Linked DNA regions of Homo sapiens: regions 2 and 3 are each linked to region 1. The links are contacts of gene promoters, found by promoter capture Hi-C in human tissues and cell types (Jung and others, 2019). All regions are on one chromosome and are shown on one strand. Each heading gives the region's core, a stretch centred on a gene start or on the middle of the fragment in contact. The rest is flanking DNA. Distances are from core to core; before and after follow the strand shown.

The links. Contacts are between HindIII fragments. The study calls those that stand out against the background at their distance.
Region 2: a contact is called between a fragment that was not itself captured here and the fragment with the promoter of SLC45A3 in region 1, in 1 of the 25 tissues and cell types used here (aorta).
Region 3: a contact is called between a fragment that was not itself captured here and the fragment with the promoter of SLC45A3 in region 1, in 1 of the 25 tissues and cell types used here (aorta).

What each region holds. Positions count from the first base shown.
Region 1 is chr1:205,679,016-205,682,352 of GRCh38, reverse strand. It overlaps SLC45A3 (solute carrier family 45 member 3), which reads left to right and starts at 1,844. Exons shown (of 5, transcript NM_033102.3): 1 at 1,844-1,959. It overlaps LOC105371701 (a long non-coding RNA gene), which reads right to left and starts at 1,983. Exons shown (of 4, transcript XR_007066825.1): 1 at 1,854-1,983. RefSeq lists a silencer at 2,080-2,299. The HindIII fragment of the contact is 16,856 bases long and covers 1-3,337 here.
Region 2 is chr1:205,921,873-205,925,209 of GRCh38, reverse strand. It overlaps SLC26A9 (solute carrier family 26 member 9), which reads left to right. Exons shown (of 21, transcript NM_052934.4): 13 at 721-827; 14 at 1,597-1,666; 15 at 1,783-1,875; 16 at 2,015-2,128. Among named protein-coding and RNA genes, the nearest start is that of SLC26A9-AS1, 11 kb to the left of the region's middle. The HindIII fragment of the contact is 3,074 bases long and covers 355-3,337 here.
Region 3 is chr1:205,543,754-205,547,090 of GRCh38, reverse strand. No RefSeq gene overlaps it. Among named protein-coding and RNA genes, the nearest start is that of SLC60A1, 24 kb to the left of the region's middle. RefSeq lists an enhancer at 3,256-3,337. The HindIII fragment of the contact is 8,375 bases long and covers 1-3,337 here.

The DNA.
Region 1 (3,337 bases), core at 595-3,094:
TTCGCGCCATTCTCCTGTCTCAGCCTCCGGAGTAGCTGGGACCACAGGTGCCTGCCACCACGCCTGGCTACTTTTTTGTGTTTTTAGTAGAGGCAGGGGTTCATCGTGTTAGCCAGGATGGTCTTGATCTCCTGACCTCGTGATCCGCCCGCCTCGGCCTCCCAAAGTGCTGGGATTACAGGCGTGAGCCACTGCGCCTGGCCAACTATTATTATTATAACATGAGGCTACATCAGCAGAAAGAGGGGGATTTTCAGAGCAGAGAGCCCTACTGTACCCTGTATTGGGTGGGGCCTGGCCAGTGCATCCACCTGGTTTAGTTGGGAAGGGGTGATTGGGTAGGGCCCAGGATCACCATGGGATCCAGGCTGTGTGCTCACTCCCCTGAGCTCTCCTTCCTCATCCCCCTGTCATAAGGCATAAAGCACAAGGGCCCCTGGAAAGAAGTGGTGGGAGGCAGGAGGAAGAGGGGGGCTCTTACTTGTCTGTGGTGCGACAACTCTCTCATGTTCCCAGTGTTCTTTCCCAAGCCTGCAAAATACCACCGTCCACTCTCTCCTGGCTCTGTAATTTTCCAGCTGACCTGAAATTTCCCCTGACTCCTGACCTCTTTCCTGGAGGAGAGGGGACACCAGCTCAGAGACCCTGGACTCCACCCTAGTCTCTCTGCTTGCCACGAGAGGGTATGCCAAAGACTTTGGAAAGCCATCTCCAGGAGGGTCCCCAGGTAGAGGTGTGTCTGCTCCAGGGAGGCAACGCTGAGACAGTTTTCAAGTTAAACTTGTTTAGTGACTCAGAAGGTAGATTCTTGATTTTTCTCTTCTCAACTCTCTCTGGCACCTGCTCTCTGTTCCCCACTACCACCAGGGCGCCACTATTTCCTCTCCCTTCTCTATCTCCCTTTCTTCTCTGCCTCCTTCTACCTCTCAGCTGGAAGGTGCCCTTAGAAATCATTTGGCTCACCCCCTCTTACAGAGGCCCAGAACATGGAAGGGACTTGGCCCACGTTATACGGCTGTTGACACAGGGCCAGCATTGGAACCCAGTGCCCCAGTGCCTGGTTGGCTAAGGCCAACCAGGTCTTCCCCTTCGAAGGCATCTTCCTGGGACTTTGTAGTATTCAAGTCAACAATCCAACTAAATTGGATTTCTCTCCACCCAATAAAACTCCATGGAGGAAAAAAAGACAAAACTGCCCCCCAACCCCCAACCCCAGGGCCAGCCTGGGACTCCATCAAAGACATTCTGGAACAGGTATCTGTTCGGACCTTGCTCAACAGCTGACAAAGAGAACATTTCATTGGCAATTTATCATCCATTCTTCCCCGTACACACTCTTAAGAAGAAAAAAAATTGGAATTTGGTTTTCAGCGCAGAAAGAGGGATTGAGTTAGCTCTGTCTGCGTCGGAGAATAGCAAAGAGCAGAAGGGTAATTCGGAGAGAATGTGACATCTCCTTTGAAGGGATGGTCCTGGACAGGTAGGGAGCAGCTCTGCCTGGAGATCGGGTGGCCAGAATGGCACGCCTGGGTAATGGTCGCAGCAGACTGGCTCCGAGTAGGGGAGGGGAGGTGCCCCGCGAAGCCGGGTAGCTTTCACCTAAATGTTTGGTGGCGAGCGACAGAGGGGGCGGTGCCCTGCCCTAGGTAATGATAGGGCAGTCTGGGAGCCACGCGGGGGCTGCCCGTCGCGGCGCGGCTACAAAGCCAGCTTCGAGACCTCCCGCTTTCTTCCCCTGGGTACCAGCCCCACCCCTCTATCCCCCCTCGCAGCACCCCCCACCTCCGTCCCGCCTCGCCCCGCCCCCCTCCTGGCAGTCCCAGCGCGCATGCTCTCTCCCCCCGCGGAGTAACCTGGAGATTTAAAAGCCGCCGGCTGGCGCGCGTGGGGGGCAAGGAAGGGGGGGCGGAACCAGCCTGCACGCGCTGGCTCCGGGTGACAGCCGCGCGCCTCGGCCAGGTAGGAGCGCGCCCCCTCCTCTCCCAGGGGTGAGGGTCCCGGCGCGGGAAAGGGAGCAGCAGTGCACGGCCGAGCTCCGCGCTGTCGCGTGTTTTGCGCCCCGCGGGATGGGGCTGCGCCGTGGCCGTCCGGGGCGCTGCGCGCCGAGCCCCGCGCGAATCCCAGAGGAGGGCGCGTCCCACACGCTCTGCCGGGGCGGGTGCCGAGTGCCCGGCGCCTGCACGGGTCCCCGCTGAGCTGTGCTTTCTTCCGCGGAGGGCGGGCAGGCAGGAGGTGCCCGCGCTGTCCCAGGCGGGGCGGCGGTGTGGGCGGGGAGCGGCCCCTCCCCGGAGCCCCGGGCCGGGCCGGACCGGGCCGGGCCGACGGCTGGCGGACCGGCCGCTGGCTCCTGTTGCAGCCTCCCGTGTCAGACTTTTCTTTGGAAAGTTGCGTTTATTTTCTTCTCTTGTCTGGGCTTCACCGGAAAGGGGCAGGATGAGTCACTGCGGCGCGCACAGTCCGGGACTTGGGGGAGCCGGGACGGGAGCCGACGGCCGCGGCGCCGCGGGGTGCTCAGGCCCAGGCCGGCTTTCTTGAGGAAGAGTGAGTTATTAAGACAGGGAAAGGGGACTGAGCCCTCTTGGACTTAGAACTGGGGCGAGCTCTGGGTACAGAGTTGGGACTGGACCGTGTGTGTGTGTGTGTGTGTGTGTGTGTGTGTGTGTGTGTTACTGTGTCCCCTTTTCAGCCTCAGTTTCCCCCTCTGTGGGGAGAGAAAGGCCGCTGTTTTCTCCTCGCCTCCCAGGTCTCAGGTGGGGAAGGACAGAGTTCTGCAAACGGCAAACAGGTGTGATGTGGTGGTACCTAGGCATCCCGTGCAGCTTCTCAGAGCTCTGGGCCTAGGCAGGCTTGCTAGAAAAGCCCCAGGGACCTGCATGCTTTCTCCCTAGTGCGGGTCAGGCCTTCCTGTAGTCTTCCGCTCCCCCCAGGCACTGCAGTCCTGTGAGTTGCTCTTGCCCTTGACCTCTGAATCAGCCTCCATCTTCCTGACAGACACTCTTGACCTGCTCAGCTTTTCCCCACTCCAGGGCGTGTTCCCTATGCTTCCTCTTTTTCCAAGGGGCCAGAGTTGGGGGTAGGGAGGGGTTTGGCATGGTGGGTACCTGGTGAGGACTCGCCCTTCAGCTGTTACACAGACCCGGTCCCGGTGGAGCAGGGACTAAGAATAGCCCAGCTGCTGTCTTGCTGCCCTGGAGTCTGCAGCCGGGCATTGCCAGTTGACCAGGGCCCGCAGTGACCCTTGCTGGGGTCCTGGAACCTTTGCTCAGGGGTGGGGTTGAGGTCCTAGGGGCTTCGGACTACCTTTCCTGAGGCACTTAGCAGATCTCCTTTCAGAGCA
Region 2 (3,337 bases), core at 642-3,141, 240 kb before region 1:
ACTGAGCATCCATCACTAGGCTAGGACCGTCACATTCCTTAACTTTTGAATCCTTTCATGAAGTAGGCATTATTATTCTCCTTTTGTTTCACATAGCCATTAAAGAACAAAATTTGGGGCTGGGTGTGCTGACTCACACCTGTGATCTAGCACTTTAGGGGGCTGAGGCAGGAGGATCGCTTGAAGTCAGGATTTCAAGGTCAGCTTGGGCAGCTTAGCGAGAGCCGTCTCTAGAAAAATAAAAAGTTAGCTGGGTGTGGTGGCACGTGCCTATAGTCCTAACTATTCAGGAAGGTTAGGCGGGAGCACAACTTGGGTTCAAGGGTTTGAGGCTCCAGTGAGCTGATCTTGCCACTGCACTACAGCCTGAGCAACAGAGCAAGACCCTGTGACTCCAAAAACAAACAAACAAACACATTTTGAACCCAAACAGATCTGACCCAAGATGCATGCTCTTATAGATGCCACCTCCCTGTGTGCTGGGGCTTCTACTAAAAACACAGACAAGATCAGGCAACCACAGTCAATCTAAGGGAAAGAGGAAAGTGTAACCAAAGCACAAATACATAAAATATTGCAAAAAATGCTATTTAAAGAAAAAAAAGAGAAGAGAGGCTCTGAGGTTGTACTAACAGAGAATGGCCTTGGCTAATCCAGGAAGACTTCCTGAAAGAGGTTGTTTTTTCCCCAGGTCTGCTTTTGACATCTCTCTTTTCACAGTGCATCTGGGTAGTGAGCTTCCTCTCCTCCTTCTTCCTCAGCCTGCCCTATGGTGTGGCAGTGGGTGTCGCCTTCTCCGTCCTGGTCGTGGTCTTCCAGACTCAGTTGTAAGTGATAGCTTCCGCCCTCCTAGGCCCACAGTCGGTTCCCTGGGCCAGCCCGCAAAGGGCTTCCATGCCACGGCCTGGCTTAGTCCACTGTACCTTCCACCTCTGGGCCTGGCACTGGAGGTGCTGCCAGGCCCAAAGAGAGCCCAACCCAGCCAGGACTGTGGGCACAGTCTGGGCTGTTTGACTTCCCATATCTTGAAAACCCCAGAGAAAGCCAGCATACTCTTGCTGGGGATGGCTGGGGAGAGGGCAGTGGCAGAGAAAGGAGGGCAAGGGCAGGTGGTGAGATTCAACATCCTTCCAAAGACATTGCCAGAACCCCAAACCAAATGGGACCCCACCCCAGGAGAGCGCCAGGGTGGAAGACAGAAGCTGTGTTCTACACACTGGGAGTATTACAGAGAAGGGGTCTTGGCCCAGGCAGGGAGTACGCTGAATGTTGGGGGAATCCTATCTTCTCTTCTTGAGAACTCAGAACAAGGAAATGATGACTTCAGGGCGACTCCCACCACTTCTCCCACCACTTCTCTCCCCTGCCCTGTGGTCTGGGAGCTATGTCAAGGACCTGCCTGTCATCCTCATAGTTATAGGAGGCCACAGGCCACCAGACATGTGTCTCCAGTGCAAAAAGACAGACACAGCAAGTCTGGGGGTGAGGACAGGACCCCATCCTACCTTGGCTCTGCCCCCGCCCCAGCAGGGGCACCCTTCCAGGCCCATGTGCCATTAGCATTCTCTTATGTTTTTCTCTTCCTGCTTCATCCAGTCGAAATGGCTATGCACTGGCCCAGGTCATGGACACTGACATTTATGTGAATCCCAAGACCTATAATAGGGTAGGTAATTCAAGCTTATGACCTCCTTCTTTTGCTCTGCACCACCCCAAGAAGAGGTTGCTTTTTAAAGCCAATAAAGACATTTCTGCAACTTGAGCTCAGTCTCCCTGTCACAGGCCCAGGATATCCAGGGGATTAAAATCATCACGTACTGCTCCCCTCTCTACTTTGCCAACTCAGAGATCTTCAGGCAAAAGGTCATCGCCAAGGTAAGGCTCAGTCCCTGGCGACCAGAGGCTCTGGACAGAGAGTGGCCGGAAAATGGAAGCAGAAGGGCGGTGGGAGCTGAGAATAGGCCACTCCCATAGAGGGTGGAGGTCAAGATTGCTGTTGGCTCTCTCCCTGCAGACAGGCATGGACCCCCAGAAAGTATTACTAGCCAAGCAAAAATACCTCAAGAAGCAGGAGAAGCGGAGAATGAGGCCCACACAACAGAGGAGGTCTCTATTCATGAAAACCAAGGTGAATGAAGGCCAGAAGCAGCCCCGTGCCCTGCTCTCCTGCCCATTCTGATACTGCCCCCTGTTACTCATGGTACCCTGGGGGCCCCGCTTCCCACCCTGACAGGCAAAGACAGAAAGTCTCTGGGAACACTGCCTGGTGGCCGCTGGGCATTTTTCTTCTTTTTTTTCTTTTTCTTTTTAGAGATGGAATTTTGCTCTTGTCACCCAGGCTTGAGTGCAATGGCGTTATCTTGGCTCACTGCAACCTCCACCTCTGGGGTTCAAGCGATTCTCCTGCCTTAGCCTCCCAAGTCGCTGAGATTACAGGTGCCACCACACCCAGCTAATTTTTGTATTTTTAGTAGATATTGGGTTTCACCATGTTGGCCAGGCTGGTGTCAAACTCCTGACCTCAGGTGATCCACCTACCTTAGCCTTCCAAAGTGCTGGGATTACAAGCCTGAGCCACTGCGCCCAGCCTGGGCATTTTTCTTCTTGGATGAGGTGCTACCATCTCCCAGGGAAGCCACTGAACCCCCAAGGCCCTTCTCCATTTTCTGGCTAAGATAGGACATGGCCCATGGACTTTTGAACAACCCAGAGGGGGAACAGCAGTGAATTTCCTGGGGAACCCAGGCAGCCCAGGGCTAGCAAGGCTGGGGTGGCCATGGCAGTAATCCTTGTAATCCCAGCACTTTAGGAGGCCGAGATGGGAGAATCACTCTCATGAGTTCAGGAGTTCGAGACCAGCCTGCCCAACGTGGCGAAACGCTGTCTCTACTAAAAATACACAAAAATTAGCCAGGCGTGGTGGTGGGCACCTGTAATCCCAGCTACTCAGGAGGCTGAGGCACGAGAATCACTTGAACCCGGGAGGCAGAGGTTGCAGTGAGCCGAGATAGTGCCACTGCACTCCAGCCTAGGCAACAGAGGGAGACTCTGTCTCAAGAAATAAAGGAGCTCAGTGTCCCCGGAGGGGCTTTCTCCCAGAGAGAGTGGGCTTGAGGCTTCAGTGCCTCTCTTGGCTGGGTCCTCTGACTTTGTCTGGGTTGTAGGAGACCAAGTTTGCAGGCCCTGCCTAAGAAAGGGCTTTGGGAGAGGCCTCTCTGGTGGAGCTTTCAGGGTCTGTGTTCACCATCACCGAGGCGAGTTATTCCCCTACACCTACACCCTCCATGCCCCTGCTTCAGTCACAGCAAGGTCTGGCTCAGTCTGGTGGTCCCTGACT
Region 3 (3,337 bases), core at 358-2,857, 140 kb after region 1:
CCAGGCATGCTGGGGCACACCTGTAGTTGTAACTACTCAGGAGGCTGGGGTGGGAGGATGGCTTGAGCCCGGGATGTCAAGGTTGCAGTGAGCCAGGATTGCGCTACTGCACTCCAGCCTGGGCAACAGAGTGAGGCTCTGCCTCAAAAAAAAAAAAAAAAGAGAGAAGAGCAGGTGTCAAATTCCTTTTATGTCCATCTATGCTTTCTCTTAAGCAGCCTTGGTTTAAGAGATACTAATAGAGATACTTCCTAATCTGGCTGTCGTTGCTTTCATCCTTATCCTTATACCCTAGCAGATTTACCAAGAGGATAAATCCCAGCTGGAAGTCTTGGACATCTGGCTCCATTTTCAGCATTATCTCCAGATTAGGGCAGCCAGGGAGAAACTTGGATGTGGAGGGCACACAGCCCTGCACAGACACAGACAACTATGAAGTCAACTATTAAAAGACTCCCCATGCATAAAATCCTTCCATTAATAGTCAATAATGGCTAATATTGTGTGACATATTTTGAGGACTTTTCCCCTGTGTCAGGGAAGTGGGTATGTTTTTTATATCTCCATATTACACATAAGAAAACTGAGGCACAGAGAGGTGAAGTAAGTGGCCCAAGGTCGCTCAGCTAGCAAGTACACTAGCCAGGATTTGAGCCCTCTGGCTCTAGAGCCTATGCCCTTAACCACGAGGCTATCCTGCTAGGGTTACACTTTCCTTTTCAGGGTCTTGTGAGGCACAGCTTGACCCCTGACCCTCTTTGGGTACCCTGGGCCACCCCATGGGTCCAGAGTCTGATTTTGAACTCTAACCAGCCACCCCACCCCAGCCCTTGGCTCCCCAGCAGAGTGAAGTGGGTCTGCTCCAGCTTGAGGCTACTAGGAGCCCATTGATGGCATTGCCTAGAGCCACATCATGCAGAATGAGCTCCTGGCAGCACAAGCCCGCGCTGTTCATTCGGAGCTGCGGCATGCTCACTAGGTCCTCATGGTGATGCTGGGAGGTGGACTAGAGTATCCCATTTGGCATGTGAGGAATTGAGCTCCGTGAGATTAAGTCACTGGTCCAGAATCACAGAGTAGCCAAGCCAGGATTCAAACCCAGACCTCCACGTGCCATGTGCAGCTCTCCTTTCACAAATCCACAGCTGCACTCCAGGGATTCCCGGCTGACAAATGTAGTTTGGGTGTCTTACTGTGGTCTTTAACCCGCAGGACCCAAAGCTACAGCGTTTCCAGTTTCTTTCCTTCCCAGACTCTCAGGAAACCACTTCTCAAACGTCTACTTGCTACAGAATTGCTTGAGGAGAGTATTTAAAATGCAGATTCCCAGAGTTCATCCTCCAGGGATTCTGACTTTGGAGGTCTGGGGTAGGGCCCAGGACTCTGCATTCTTAGCAGACCCTCAGATAATTCTGAAGCAGGAGGGTCCTGATGCACCCATCTCTGAGAAACCTGCTTTACACCCATCTGAGTGGTATCTGTCCCAACCCCTACTCATGGCAAGGGGCCCATAAACCTCTGAGGGATGACTAAATGTTCCGGTGTGGTTCAGGTTTCTCTCTGGGGGTTGAAAATGTTATAAAGTGCAATGGGAGATTTTCTAGGCAGAAGATGGGTCCTTTGCCTTCTGAGAGATGGGGCTACTTCTCTTGGGTTTCACTCTATAGGTGAAGGCGGAGTGAGGGGAGAGGGCCGCCCCTTGAGGGCTCAGCAGGGCCCTAGCCTGCGCCTGTTTTCAGACCAGGTTGCTGCTCTTTTGGCTGACGTCATAAAACAGAGCCCTGGGTGGGCGTGGTGGCTCACGCCTGTAATCTTAGCACTTTGGAAGCTGAGGCAGCGGGATCACCTGAGGTCAGGAGTTCAAGACCAGCCTGCTCAACATGGTGAAACCCCATCCCTACTAAAAATACAAAAATTAGCCACGTGTCAAGTGAGGAGCACCTCTCTCTGGCCGCCGCCCTGTCTGGGAAGTGAGGAGTGCCTCTTTCTGGCCGCCACCCTGTCTGGGAAGTGAGGAGCACCTCTGCCCGGCCGCCGCCCACCATCTGGGATGTGAGGAGTGCCTCTGCCTGGCCGCTGTGCAACCCTCCAAGTGTGAAGTGACAGCCTTGTGGGTGATACTTCTGCCCTCCCCAAGTTTGCATTTTTGACATTGAAGTTTACTTTTTAATTAAAAGTTTTAAATTGGAGAATAAAAAAAAATTAGCCAGGCGTGGTAGCACACGTCTGTAATCCCAGCTAACTGGGAGGCTGGGGCAGGAGAACTGCTTGAACCTGGGAGGTGGAGGTTGCAATGGGCCAAGATCGTGCCACTGCACTCCAGCCTGGGCGACAGAGCAAGACTCTGTCTCAAGCAATAACAACAACAACAGAGCCCCAAGTCAGTGTTTCTCAACCTTGCCCCAACCGCTTCCGAATCACCTGTTATTTGTCAAAAATGCAGATTCCTGCCCCCAACTCTGATTTGTTGAATTAGGATGAGGAAGAGGGGACAGCGCCCAGAAATCTGCACTCTCGGCTGGCACCCCAGCCATCACTTATGCACCTGAATGCTTGAGAAATTCTGTCGCAGAACATGGACTTTGGAGTGTCACAGACCTGGGTTCCAGTCCCAGCTCTGCCACAAAGTAGCTGCGTGGTCTGGAGCAATCTCAGTCTCTGTGAAACTCAGTTTCCTCATCTAAAGAAATAGGTTACTACACAAGCTTATTGGTCTTGCTGTGAGTTGATTCTCACAAGACCAATCAAACAATGAAGAAATGTACGCAAAGCACTGGGCACCTCGGAGAGATGGCACCCCCAGCCTAGTGGTAAAGAGAGGGATGCATAGAGGAATGCTTTCTCTGGGAGGAAAGAGCTGGGAGCACTGAGCATTACTCACCCACTGGCAAACACTGACCCACTTCAAAACAATTCTGACTTTCCATTTCCTCTGGGGGGAGCTCAGTGAAGCTTTCAAAGGTGACTAGGTCCTTTCCCATACTCAGGTGTGAGCCATCCCAAGTCCCAAGTTGGGGTCAGGTGTTGTAAACAAAAAATAATACAATTTTGACTCCTTCCACACCTCCAGCTGAGCCCTCCATCCACGGCCCCACCTGCCATTTCCCCTCCACGTGACATTCCTAGATCCCTCACTGGGTGGCAGGCCCAGTCTGAAAGGCCCTCTTGGCAAACCACGGGTCTGCCAAGGTCCCTGGGACCTGTAGCCTCAAAGCCAGGAGTTTCCAAATCCTTCCTTCTCTTTGGCTCTCCCAGTCTGGCCATGCAAAGAAACGCCAGAGCTTTTAAAAAGTTTCGGCCATTCATAATGGATTAGTCCACTCCGGAAACATTCCCC